Linked DNA regions of Homo sapiens: region 2 is linked to region 1. The links are contacts of gene promoters, found by promoter capture Hi-C in blood cells and fetal thymus (Javierre and others, 2016). All regions are on one chromosome and are shown on one strand. The core of a region is centred on a gene start or on the middle of the fragment in contact, and the rest is flanking DNA. Distances in the headings are between cores, read along the strand shown. Region 1 holds the start of EXD2 (exonuclease 3'-5' domain containing 2). Region 2 overlaps RAD51B (RAD51 paralog B).

Evidence for each region. The method cuts DNA at HindIII sites, captures the fragments that hold promoters and counts their contacts. A CHiCAGO score of 5 or more calls a contact.
Region 2: a fragment that was not itself captured here is called in contact with the fragment with the promoter of EXD2 in region 1 in 1 of 17 cell types (M0 macrophages); the score reaches 5.1 in M0 macrophages.

The regions. Positions count from the first base shown.
Region 1 is chr14:69,188,073-69,194,314 of GRCh38, forward strand. It overlaps EXD2 (exonuclease 3'-5' domain containing 2), which reads left to right and starts at 3,426. Exons shown (of 10, transcript NM_001193360.2): 1 at 3,426-3,519. All of the region lies in intron 3 of GALNT16-AS1 (GALNT16 and EXD2 antisense RNA 1), which reads right to left. RefSeq lists a silencer at 3,647-3,836. The HindIII fragment of the contact is 2,229 bases long and covers 1,922-4,150 here.
Region 2 is chr14:67,878,888-67,885,129 of GRCh38, forward strand. All of the region lies in intron 5 of RAD51B (RAD51 paralog B), which reads left to right. Among named protein-coding and RNA genes, the nearest start is that of RAD51B, 62 kb to the left of the region's middle. The HindIII fragment of the contact is 1,782 bases long and covers 2,819-4,600 here.

The sequences.
Region 1 (6,242 bases), core at 2,176-4,675:
AACTGTCTTCAGAAGTGGCTATACCATTTTGCATTCCCAACAGCAATGAATGAGAGTTCCTGTTGCTCCACATCCTTAGCAGAATTTGGTGTTGGCAGTGTTTTGGATTTTAGCCATTGTTTAACCTCCGCCCCCAAGACTCAAGCGATCCTCCCACAACTGCCTCCCGAGTAGCTGGGACCACAGGTGTGTGCCACCACACCCAGCTAATTTTCGTATTTTGGGTAGAGGTGGAGTTTTGCCATGTTGCCCAGAGTGGTCTCAAACTCCTAGGCTCAAGTGATCCACATGCCTAAGTCTCTCAAAGTGCTGGGATTACAGACGTAATTTCCAAGTACACGGAGTTTTAAAAATAATCCTTTCTTTCCCTTCCTTCCTTCCTTCCTTCCTCCCTTCCTTCCTTCCTTCTTCCCTCTCTCCCTCTTTCTTTCTCTCTCTTTCGTTCTCTCTCTCTCTCTTTTTTTTTTTTTTGATGGAGCCTCGCTCTGTTGCCCATGCTGGAATGCATTGGCACGATCTCGGCTTACTGCAACCTCCGTTTCCCCAGTTCAAGCAGTTCTCCTGCCTCAGTCTCCCAAGTAGCTGGGTTTACAGGCATCGGCCACTGTGCCTGGCTAATTTTTGTATTTTTAGTAGAGACAGGGTTTCACCGTGTTGGCCAGGCTGGTCTTGAACTCCTGACCTCAGGTGATCCTCCTGCCTCAGCCTCCCAAACTGCTGGGATTACAGGCATGAGCCACCGCACCCAGCTTCATGATTGATTTCTAACTTAATTGCAATGTAGTCAGAGAATGTGATCTGTATGATAGCAATTTTTTGCAATTTGTAAAAAGTTGCTCAATAGCCTACATTTTTAAAAATTATTTGATTTTAAAAACAGCAACCAGTTAGATAATCAATGGCCTAAATCAAAATTAATTTTCTTAAATCTTCCCTGTAAATGTGAAAAGTATATTTGAGAACAATTTGTGTTTTCACATCGTTGAGGACATAGTTCTTTTCTTTGTCTTCCTCAGGAATGGAGGGTTCTTTACATAGTTCTATACATGCTCCTTAGAAAAGGTTAATTAATTATGTCAGACATTCCCATAATGACTGGTGATTCTTGGATGTCTTCTCATATTTAAAAGTGAGAAACTGTATTTTAAAAGCTGATTAGAAATTCTGTATGCACAGATGAGTCTTGTTGACTGGGCCTTAATGTAGAGTGATTGCTTGTGAACCCAGACAGTTCTTTATGAAATCCTCCAAATGTCAATATTCTGCTATTCTTTTTGTTTTTAATTATTAATTTTTGTGGGCACACAGTAGATGTACATATTTATGGGGTACATGAGATATTTTGATACAAGCATACAATGTATCTGCCATTCTAATCTAATTTCTATCTTTTAAAATTGTATCTTTTTTTTTAGTTTGGTACTATGTCCTTTCCTGTTCTTTCTTCTTTGGGTTAACAAACTTTTCACTCCTTTACTATCATTTTTAAAAACCCTTTTATCGAAGTATATATGAAACCAGAAAAGTGCTCACAAATATAACCTGAACACACATGTAAAGCCGCACTCAGATTAAGAAATAGAACATTATCAGCACTTCGTGAACCTCCTCATGTTCCCTTCCAGTTATTACTACCCTAAGATTAATCATTATATACAGTGACTTCTAATAGCAGGGATATTTGGGTAGTTTCCCGTTTGGGGCTGTTGAAAGTATGGGTATGAGCTTTTTTTTGTACATGTCCTTTTGGTGAATACATGCAGACATTTCAGTTGCATATATATAACTAGGAGTAAAATTGTTTTTTGTTGTTTTTGTTTTCGAGACAGGGTCTAGCTCTGTCACCTATGCTGGACTGCAGTGGTGTGATCACAACTCACTGCAGCCTCAAACTCCAGGGATCAAGACGTCCTCCTGCCTAAGCTTCTGGAGTAGCTGGGACTACAGGTGCACACCATGATGCCCAGCACTTTGGGAGGCCGAGGTGGGAGGATCGCTTGAGGCCAGGAGTTCAAGACCAGCCTGGGCAACACAGTGAAAATCCCTAAAGTGCTGGGATGACACGTTGAGCCACTGTGCCCCAGCTAGGGGTGAAATTGTTGGAACAAAGTCTTTTCACATATTCAGATTCAGTTGATACCGCCAAACAGTTAAACAAAGTGATTGCATCAATTTATGTTCCCTTCAGGAGCATATGAGAGTTGTGGTTGCTCCACAATCTTGCCAATACTTGACATTTTCTTTTTCATTTAGCTATATCTCATTGTGGTTTTAATTTGCATTTCCTCTTTATCCTTTGTTTTTTAAGTGTTTCAAGATGGAGCAGATAAAAATTCAGGGAGTTAATCCTCTATAATAGCTGGAAATTTCCCCCATGGGTACTCATTCAATGGAATTTAAAACATTTGCCCCTGTATTGAAGGCAATATAGTATAAAGGATGGGGCCACATGCTCTGCAATCAGAAATATGAGGTTTGATTCCTAACTCCGGTGCTTACTTGCTGAATTACCTTGAGGAAGTTATTTAACCTTTTTCTATTTTATGTAAAACGGCACTAATAATAGTACTGCCTCACAGGGTTGTTATGGGGATTAAAGGAGAAAAAATAAGTAAAATGCTTTGCAAAGTTCCTAGCAACAGGTGAGCACAAAGTCAACAAATGGTAGCTATTATTATACCTTATATTGGTTATTTATGCACATCTCATTTCTCCTTCTGTTTTACACATTCCATGAGAAAGGAAAAGCATGCATGTAGCACAGATTAACTGCCTCACATATAATTGCTAATAAAGACTGATTGGATGAACGATTTAATATATAAACAAAAAGTATTGTGGTTATCGCTATAAAAGATGGCATAGGTTGGGCATTCACGCCTGTAATCCCAGCACTTTGGGAGGCCGAGTTGTGAGGTTCGCTTGAGCCCAGGAGTTCGAGACCAGCCTAGGCAATGTAGGGAGACAGTATCTACAAAAAAAAAAAAAAAAAAAAAAAAGGAGGGTACATAAAATTATTATAGTGGCTATAGGATAATGTGCACTGCTAATGAAGACTACATTATTTAAATACAGTGTCTTTCCTTCTATTTACTGTTATCGTTTAGCAGAAAAACAGTACGCAGGATACTAAAGAAGGAAAATTCGATGTCCCATATTACATTTGTGAGAGTTCTGGAGGTTTCTCCCTTCAAAGCCAAAACCAAAACACAAACATACCATCCCAGTAACAAATGCGTCACTTTTCTGAAGAAGACGTTAAGCCCTTCCAATTTTAACAGATCCTTTGTTCAACAGAGGAGAGAGACTGGGTAGGCATCACCTGCCCCAGTAGCTTCCGTACAAAATGGCGTTGCCCGTTCCCACACGCCAGCTGGGATTACGTCCTCCAGGCCTGTCGCAGGAACGGAAGTGGTTACGGCCCTAGTGAATCCGGGTGGGTGCGCGCAGGCGGCCGCACAGGTTCCAGGTCTTTAACGTGAGCCCGCTGCAGGTGTGCGGCCCAGTCCGAGACAGCAGGTAAGTGAGGCTCAGAAGCCGGCGAAGCCTTGCACCAGGATTGTGCGCGGGGCAGGGGGTGCTTCCAGTGCAGACTAAGAGGGGTCGTGGAGCGGGGGGATATTACCGTGTACGGGGGTGACATTGCGGGGCCCCCGCTGTCCCGGAGCGAGTTGGCCCTGCCCCTCTCCCCGCCCCTCGGCGTGACCCCCTCGCCCCCGTCGCACACGGCGGGGCGGTTCAGCACCCAGGTGCGCAAGGAGGGCCTCACCCCTGCCCGCGGCCTCCCACGCCCTCCTTGGGCCTCTCCTTTCGACCCCCTTACCCTCTCCCTGGGAGACTCTACCAGACCTTCGAGGCTGCGTGTCCCAGTCAGCTAAAAAGGAGGCCCCGCCCGCGGCACCTGGTAGCTCCTCGGGCGCTGCGGGTTCGACGCGGCAACAGCTGCTGTTTTCTCTCCTGGATTCGTGTGAGCCGCCACCCTCGCTACCATCCCTGTCCTCCCAGACCACACCCTGCTCTGGGCCTTGCCGGGAGCCACCTCTTTGGCTTTTCACATCCCTGGGATGGATCAAAACTAAGAACCTTAATCATTATTTATTACAAAATTGACATCTGCTCCTTAAAATACAAACAAACCAATCCCCCGATAAGCTTTTGATATGATTCCAACATTCAAACTCCTTTATATACCCTCTCCTCAAAAACACAAAATTGAAATTATACTTTATTTTCTTAGTTCTGTTCCAAGGATAGAAGGAATTGAAAGGTTTTGTTAATCATAGGAATTAGGAAGTGCGGGTTGGGGCGCAGCGGGGAAGATGGATTAAATTTGGTCAAGTTGAGCTTGTTTTAAAAATGTATTTTTAAAATATTCTAGTTATAGTCCGTGCATAAAGCCTTGTAACAAAATTATGTAAAAATTTTAAACACAGATCTTTCTTAGCTTGATGTTCTTGGTGGTGAGGGTGGGGAGTGTGGAAGACAGATCCTCTTTGATTTTGTTTTTTTCCATCTCCACCTTCTTTACCAGTCCCTTTCCCACAAAATAAGAACTGTTGTCAGTTTGTGTGTATTTTTCTTTGCATTTATTTGACAAGTATGTGTACGTATAAGATATATGTTTGTAAGATTTCGCTTTAAACTTTTACAAATATGCATGTTTTATGCATTACACAACTTGACGTTTTATGCTTAAAAACGGGTCTTGGAATTTTTTCTTTGTCAGTACCTAGAGATCTACCTATTCTTTCTACTTGCTCTGTAAATTCCATGGTTATGTAAGATTCCATAGATTGTTTCCAGTTTTTCATTGTTAGACACAGTATGGCGGAGAACATCCTTCCCACACACCTCTGTGAGAGCCCATGTGAGAGCATTTCTCAAGGATGGGTACCTGCAGGTGGAATTGCTGGGTGGGAGAGTATGGGGATTTAGGAATGCCAAACTGCCACCCACGGTGGATAATAATTTCCTCCATTCTCTCTCTCTTTTTTTTTTTTTTTTGAGACAGAGTCTTGCTCTGTTGCCCAGGTTGGAGTGCAGTGGCGTGATCTCAGCTCACTGCAGCCTCTGCCTCCCAGGTTCAAGCGATTCTCCTGCCTCAGCCTCCCGAGTAGCTGGTATTACAGGCACCCGCTACCACGCCTGGCTAATTTTTGTATTTTTAGTAGAGACGGGGTTTCACCGTATTTGCCAGGCTGGTCTCAAACTCCTAAACTCGAGTGATCCGCCTGCCTTGGCCTCCCGAAGTGATGGGATTACAGGCGTGAGCCACCGTGTCTGGCCCACCATGCTCTTTTGATCATTTAATGGTATCGATCTTTTTTGTTTTTGCCAATCTGATGGATGGAAAAGTGATTTCTCTTTGCTGTTTTAATTTGCATTCCCCTGATTACTATTGAGATTGAACATCTTCATGATTGTCAGCCATTTGTATTTCCTCTTTTGAGAAACATCTCTTTCTATTGGATTGTCTTTTCCTTATTGATTTATAATAGTATTTTATATGTTCTGGATTTTGATCTTTTGTTATTCATATGTGTTTATAATATTTACTCCCTGCTTATTGCTTTTTTAAGTTGTTGCTTGTCTTTTAACTATATGGCATCTTTGTTGAAACAAAGTTTAAAATTTTAGGTTTTAATTTATCAGTCTGTTATGTGTGTGTTTGTATTTTGTGGCTATCATTCCCAATCCGAGTGGTTCTTAAATGGCAGAGATTTTTGCTCTCGGGGTTATTTGGCAATGTCTGTAAACATTTTTTGTTTGTTCCACTAGGATGGTGCTGCTATTGGTTATCTAGTGAGTAAAAGCGAGGGTGCTGCTAAACATCCTACAGCGCACGGGAAAGCTTCCCACAACAAAGAATTTCACCAGCCAAAAATGTCAGTTGTGCTGAAGTTGAAAAATCCTTCTCTACTTTTAGAGAGAGGAGGGTTTTCTCCTAAAGCTCTGTTTTCTCCTTGAAGTTCTTCTTGTGGGAATAGTTTTTTTTCTTTAATTCCTCTGGAATTGTGTGTGTGTGATTGTTGTTTTCCAAATACTGTCACCTCGAACAGTCAGTCCATTCTTTTTTTTTTTTTTGAGTCAGAGTCTCGCTGTGTCGCCCAGGCTGGAGTGCAGTGGCGCGATCTCAGCTCACTGCAACCTCTGCCTCCCGAGTTCATGCCATTCTCCTGCCTCAGCCTCCCAAGTAGCTGGGACTACAGGCGCCCACCACCTCGCTTGGCTAATTTTTTGTA
Region 2 (6,242 bases), core at 2,460-4,959, 1.3 Mb before region 1:
TTTTAAATTAAAGACGGGGTTTCGCCATGTTGGCCAGGCTGGTCTCGAACTCCTGACCTCAAGTGATCTGTTCATCTCAGCCTCCCAAAGTCCTGGGATTACAGGCGTGAGCCACTGTGCCTGGCCATTACATGTTAGCATATTGTACCAAACAGGGCTCCATTAGGAAAATAGAACCAGTAGAACATATATTAAGAGAGTTATTGCAAAGAATTGGCATATGCAGATGTGGAGTTGTCTGAAATCCATAGGGCAGGCTGTTGGAAAGGGCAGGCTAGAACTCTCAGGCAAGGGCCTAAGCTGTAGTCCATAGGTGGAATTTCATCTTTTTAAAGGAAGTCTCAGCTCTGCTGTTAAGGCTTTTCAAGTGATTGAATTAGCCCACCCAGATTATGTAGGATAATCTCTAGTACTTAAAGTCATCTGTTTATGGACATTAATGACATCTACAAAATCCTTTCATAACAATGCATAGATTAGTGTTTGATTGAATAACAGGAGACTGTGGACTAGCCAAGTTGACACAAAACTGACTGTCATATATTTTTTGTTTGTTTTTTGTTTTTTTTTTAAGAGACAGGGCCTCGCTCTGTCACCCAGGCTGGAGTGCAGTGACATGATCATAGTTCACTGTAACCTCCAGCTCCCGGACTTAAGAGAGCCTCCTGCCTCAGCCTCCTGAGTAGCTGGGACTACAGATGTGAGCCACTGCACCTGGACTTTACATGTATTTTTTATGGAAAATAAATACATTTTTGACTAAAAAAAGTGAAAAAAGAGTGGCGTTGTTTTATGTTTTTGCAAATCTCTTTAGTGTCTGACTTAATAGAAGACAGCCTGATTCTAATATCTGCTTCTGCATTCAGTCTGTTGCACTCTGTTGTTTTGGTTGAGATATGAAGATCTGGCCTTATACTGGTTATAGTTGGAAAGGGAGGAATATTTTAATAGTCTCTTCAGATAATTAAAGATATGCTTCTTTGATACTACACCAGGAATTGAGTAATAGTTGCTTAGAGGTTAGTTGTGATATAGAATCTGAAACCATATTATTGCATTTTTTCTACAGTTACATTAAAATCTATTCATCTGTCTTAGGCTCTTAATGGATATTTACCTATGCATGATTTTGTAATATTATGCATTTATCACTCAGAAAATATTGGTTCACTGTCTTATGGAGTTCTAAATGTTGACACATTTTATTACTCAATATAAAAAAATTTCATTAGTATCTCCACTGATCTGAACAAAAAGTATTTAAGTATTGGGATGCAGTCAAACTCATGGTAGCAGATGTAAGTTTTTTAGGAATCTGATTTTTCATTAAAAGCTTGAATTTTATCATTGGCAATAAATATTGCCACTTGTTTTTCTTGAAGTGTCGGGCTTACTTTGCTCATTTTGAGAAAACGTCTACCAAATACTTAAGTCAGAAAAACCATAACTTATCTATCAATCATTCTTTCAAGTAAAAATGGTCTCCCATGGAAAAAGTGACTTCTTAGTCTGAGAACCCAATTGTACAGATGTTTTTCCTTGAGACAATGGTTGTACTTCAGAATGTAGTAGAAGTGCTTCTATTTTGTCAAACAGAATATTAAAAATATGTCTGTGTTCTAATAAAACTCTATTGACAAAAACAGGCAATGGGCCATAGTGCACAGTTTGACAACCCCTGCTTTATTTAACTCCTTGAGCAAATGTAGAAGATTAATAATAGCCGTTTTGAGGTTTTTATCCATGAATGCCATCATATATATAATTTTTTAAATCTGTTTTTATTGACTGATTTTTCTCCTGGTAATGGATCTTTTCCTCTTCCTTTACTTGTCTGGTAATTTTTCAATTCGATGTTAAACATTGTAAATTTTACGTTGTTGGTGGGTGCTGGATTTTAACATATGTTTTTCAAGAGTGTTAGGTTTTGTTTTAAGGTACATTTTAGTATTAGTTTGATCCTTTTGCAGGTTGCTTTTCTATGTTGTTATGGAAAAATCCCAGGTACAGTCATGCTTCGCTTAACAATTGGGATATGTTCTGAGAAATGCATTGTTAGGCAATTTCATTGTTGTATGAACACCCTACAGTGTACTTACATGCACCTAGATGGTATAGCCTACTGCGCACCTAGACTATATGGTATAGCCTATTGCTTCTAGGCTATGAACCTGTACAGCATGTTACTGTATTGAATAGGCAATTACAACACAATGGTAAGTATTTGTGTATCTAAACAAAGGAAAGGTATTGTAAAAATATACTATATAAGCTTATGGGACCACTGTTGTATAAGTGATGCATCATTGACTGAAATGTCGTTATGCAGCACATGACTGTGGTTTTTTATTCTGAAACTTATTTAGCTTCACTACTAAGGTAAAATCCTTCTGAAAATTCTGCCCAATGCCCAGTGTATAATAAGGTCTCTTTATTCTTCACCTTGTGTAAACCCGAACTGTTCTCACCCTGTGTGGGCACTAGGAAGTGTTCAGTCTGATACTTTCTGGTGGTTCTTTCCTCAACCTCAAGTAGTTTCCCTTCACACATGTGCAGATTAGTTCTCAAGTGGCCCTCTCTGCAGATCTTTGCAGTGCTCACTCTGCACACCTGCTTCCTCTCTGGTACTCTGCCCCATAAGTTCTAGCCACCTTAGCTTTCCCAAACTCCGATCCCCATCTCCTCAACTCAGGTTGTCTACCAGGCTCTGTTTACTTTCCCTTTCTTGTGTTGCAGCCTGGAAACTGCCTCTGGAGCAAACTGAGGTGATTGTAAGCTCATTGTGTTTGTTTCCTTTCTCTCAAGGATTACAGTCTCAAGCTTTCTATTGTTCAGTACCTGAAAACTCTTATTTCATGTATTCTGTCTGATTTTCTACTTATTATTTTAGTGCAATTCATGTACCAGTTAATCCTTTGTGGGCTAAAGTGGAAATCCCTTCTTTCATTCTCTCTTGAGTTCACTCTATCCAGGCTTAAGTTTCCAGCTCTATAATGCAACTGATTTAAAAAATTTTATCCAACCCAATAGCAGCATTCGAAAGAGTTGATCACTCACTTTTTCTTGAAAAGCTCTCTTCCCTTGACTTTTTATTTTTTTAGACAGGTTCTCACCTAACTCTGTCACCCAGGCTGGAGTACAGTGGTGCTATCATGGTTCACTGCAGCTTTGACCCCTCAGACTCAAGCAATCCTCTCACCTCAGCCTCTCGAGTAGCTGGGACCACAGGCATATGCCACCATGCCCAGCTAATTTTTTAATTTTTAGTACAGATAAGGTTTTGGTATGTTGCCCTGGTTGGTCTTAAACTTCTGGGCTCAAGAGATCCTCCTGCCTTGGCCTCCTAAAGTGTTGGGATTATAGGCATGAGCCACCATGCCCAGCCCACTTGGCTTCTTGGAACTATTCTCTCTTCTTTTACACCTACCTTCTTGGTCACCTCCTCCTCTCAGTCCCTTTTGCTGGATCCTCCTCATCATTTTAACTTCTAGGCTTTGGGGAATCCCAGAACTCAGTCCTAGGACCTTTTCTCTTCTATATCTGTACTCAATCCCTAATATCATCTGGTCTTATGATCTTTAAAATCTTTTATAGGCTGTAACTCCTATTGATATCTGAATTCTGAGCTTTCCCATGAACTTCAGATTCATATTCATTTGCGTAATGACATGGAACTTGGATAGGTTTACATACATGGATTTCCTGATATGTCCAAAACTGCATTTTTGTTTCCCCCATGAAGGAAATAAAACATGCAAATAACACCAATAACCAAAACCTTTATGTGAATCTTGTCTTTTCTGCTTCAATAAAGTTGTGATTCCATTCTTCTAGACACTCACCCAATTAGTCAAGAAATTCTTTCTTTTTTTTTTTGAGACGGAGCCTCACTCTGTTGCCTAGGCTGAGTGCAGTGGCGTGATCTTGGCTCACTGCAACCTCCATCTCCCAGATTCAAGCGATTCTCTTGCTTCAGCCTCCCGAGTAGCTGGGATTACAGGCGCCCGTCACCACACCTGGCTAATTTTTGTATTTTTAGTAGAGACGGGGTTTTGCCATGTTGGCCAGGCTGGTCTTGAACTCCTGACCTCAGGTGATCCGCCTGCCTTGGCCTCCCAGGGTGCTGGGATTGCAGGCGTGAGCCACCGTGCCCGGCCAAGAAATTCTTTCAGCTCCTCTTTTGAACTATATCTTGAGTCTAGTTACTTCTCATCACTTGACCTGTTACTTCCCTGGGTGAGGTCACTACCAGCTCTTAACTGGTCACTACCAGCTCTTATCTGTGCTAGCTGATCTCCTTGCTTTCATTCTTGCCCAAGCCTCTTCTCCATTGGGCAGTTAGAGCAGTCCTTTTAAAAAAAGAAGTCAGATCATGTTGTTCCTGCTTCTAGGCTTCCTATTTTGCTAAATAAAAGCTAAAAAAAAAAAATACCACTTTAGCAAAAAAAAAAAAAACAAAAACCACAGACCTAAAGGTCTTATGTGATCTTGGCCTTGGCTAGCTCTTTGTTTTCTTTTATTCTCCCTCTTACTCTCTGTGTTCCAGATACTTTAGTCTCTTTGTTGTTTCTCAGACACACCAGGCATCTTTCCACATGTAAGCTTTTGCACTTGTTATAATTCTCTATTCTTGTGTGCTGTTTCACTGGGTATCCACATGGTTCATTTTCTTATCTCTTTTAAGCTTTTGCTCAAATGTCACCTTATTAATAAGGCTTTGTCAGTTCACCTGACATAAAATATAAAATAGCGCTAGCCCCACCTGTCACATTCTATTCTCTCATCCTGCTTCATTTTCCTCTACAGCCTTATTACCTCATATATAATATATATTTATTTGTTTGTCTTCCTCAGTAGAATTTAAACCCTATGAGGTAAGGGCTTTTCTTTTTCTTTTGGTAGTGGTGGTTGTTCATTGCCATATTCTCAGCACCCAGAACAGTGCCTGGCATATAGTAGGTCCTCAATAAATATTTGTTGAATGAATGGATCTTAGTGCTCATTTTGAAAAGAATGCTTTTTATAAACAGATATCCACTAGATGGCATTATTTTCAAACTTTATGTAATTAATGTCTGGGAGCAAATGATAGGTTATTTTCTGTTTTTTGCCCTAAACAAAAAAGATCTTTGCAATGAAGATTGTCACAAGAAGTTACTAGGATGAATGTGAGGCATGTCGAATATTGCATTTATATTTGGTTTTTGATTTATATATTTTTAGATGTTTATTATAAAATAAAAAACATTTAGAGAAACAAAATTACAGCATATTGGTGTGTAAATGATCCATTTAATACAGTTATTTAGCATGGTAACTGTGAACAAAGGTTGTTCATGTCTATCCATTGACCACCATTCCTTTTGTGAGGCCTTCAGCAATGGCAAAGCAGCAGTAAGTTCCAGAGCCTTTCATTACTGAAGCCACTAGTGGAAATCCAGAAAATTGTCAGCTGTTCAGTTCTTGTTGCTAATGAGCTAGGTACTCTCAATCTGGTTCCTAATCAACTGGGCATTCAAATTTTGAAAAATTTCCATGTTTCTAGAAGATGTTGCCAGACCTATCCTGTTAAAAACTGGTAGGTTCTAAGTGCCAGAGATTTTTAGCTGACTTCTCTGACCAGCACTAAACTCAGCAAATAGTTTCCCTAATCAAAAATTTACACTTTTCCCCCAAACCCTCAGGATTTGGCTGCTCTGCCTGTGCCAATGCCATCTCATTTCTTGATTTCCTCCCTTACCTCATTTCCTTCTTCCATTTCAATCCCTGTGCCTCTCTTAAGCTCTTTTCCTGGATGGTTATTTGATCCATTTTATTCTCACTCTTCACACCTCTTTTGGTACTATTCCTTATTCATGAAGTATTTTTTCCTCTTCCTGTTCAACTTAGCTATGTATATTTTTCTTTTCAAATTGTTCAAAAATACACTTAAAAACAGTTGTTGAAGTTCTCTCTTCTCTTTTCCTGTTTTGGGCTTTTCTCTTTTATTTCTGATCATAGCAAATGTAAGGACTTGTTTTGGTTATGTTTTTAAAGTTCCCAGCTTCTTCTCAGAACTCTAACTATTTAGAAATGAAAACACTGTTCTTTTGTACTTTTGAGTCTCTAAATGGAAAACAAAATATAGGATGCTTTTTGAGTTTACAGCCTCTCCTCCCAGTTCCCCTGGGATGGCTAAGTACTAGGGCTGATAAAATGTCATTTCATTTAAAATGAAATGTGATGGTTAAACTCAAAACATT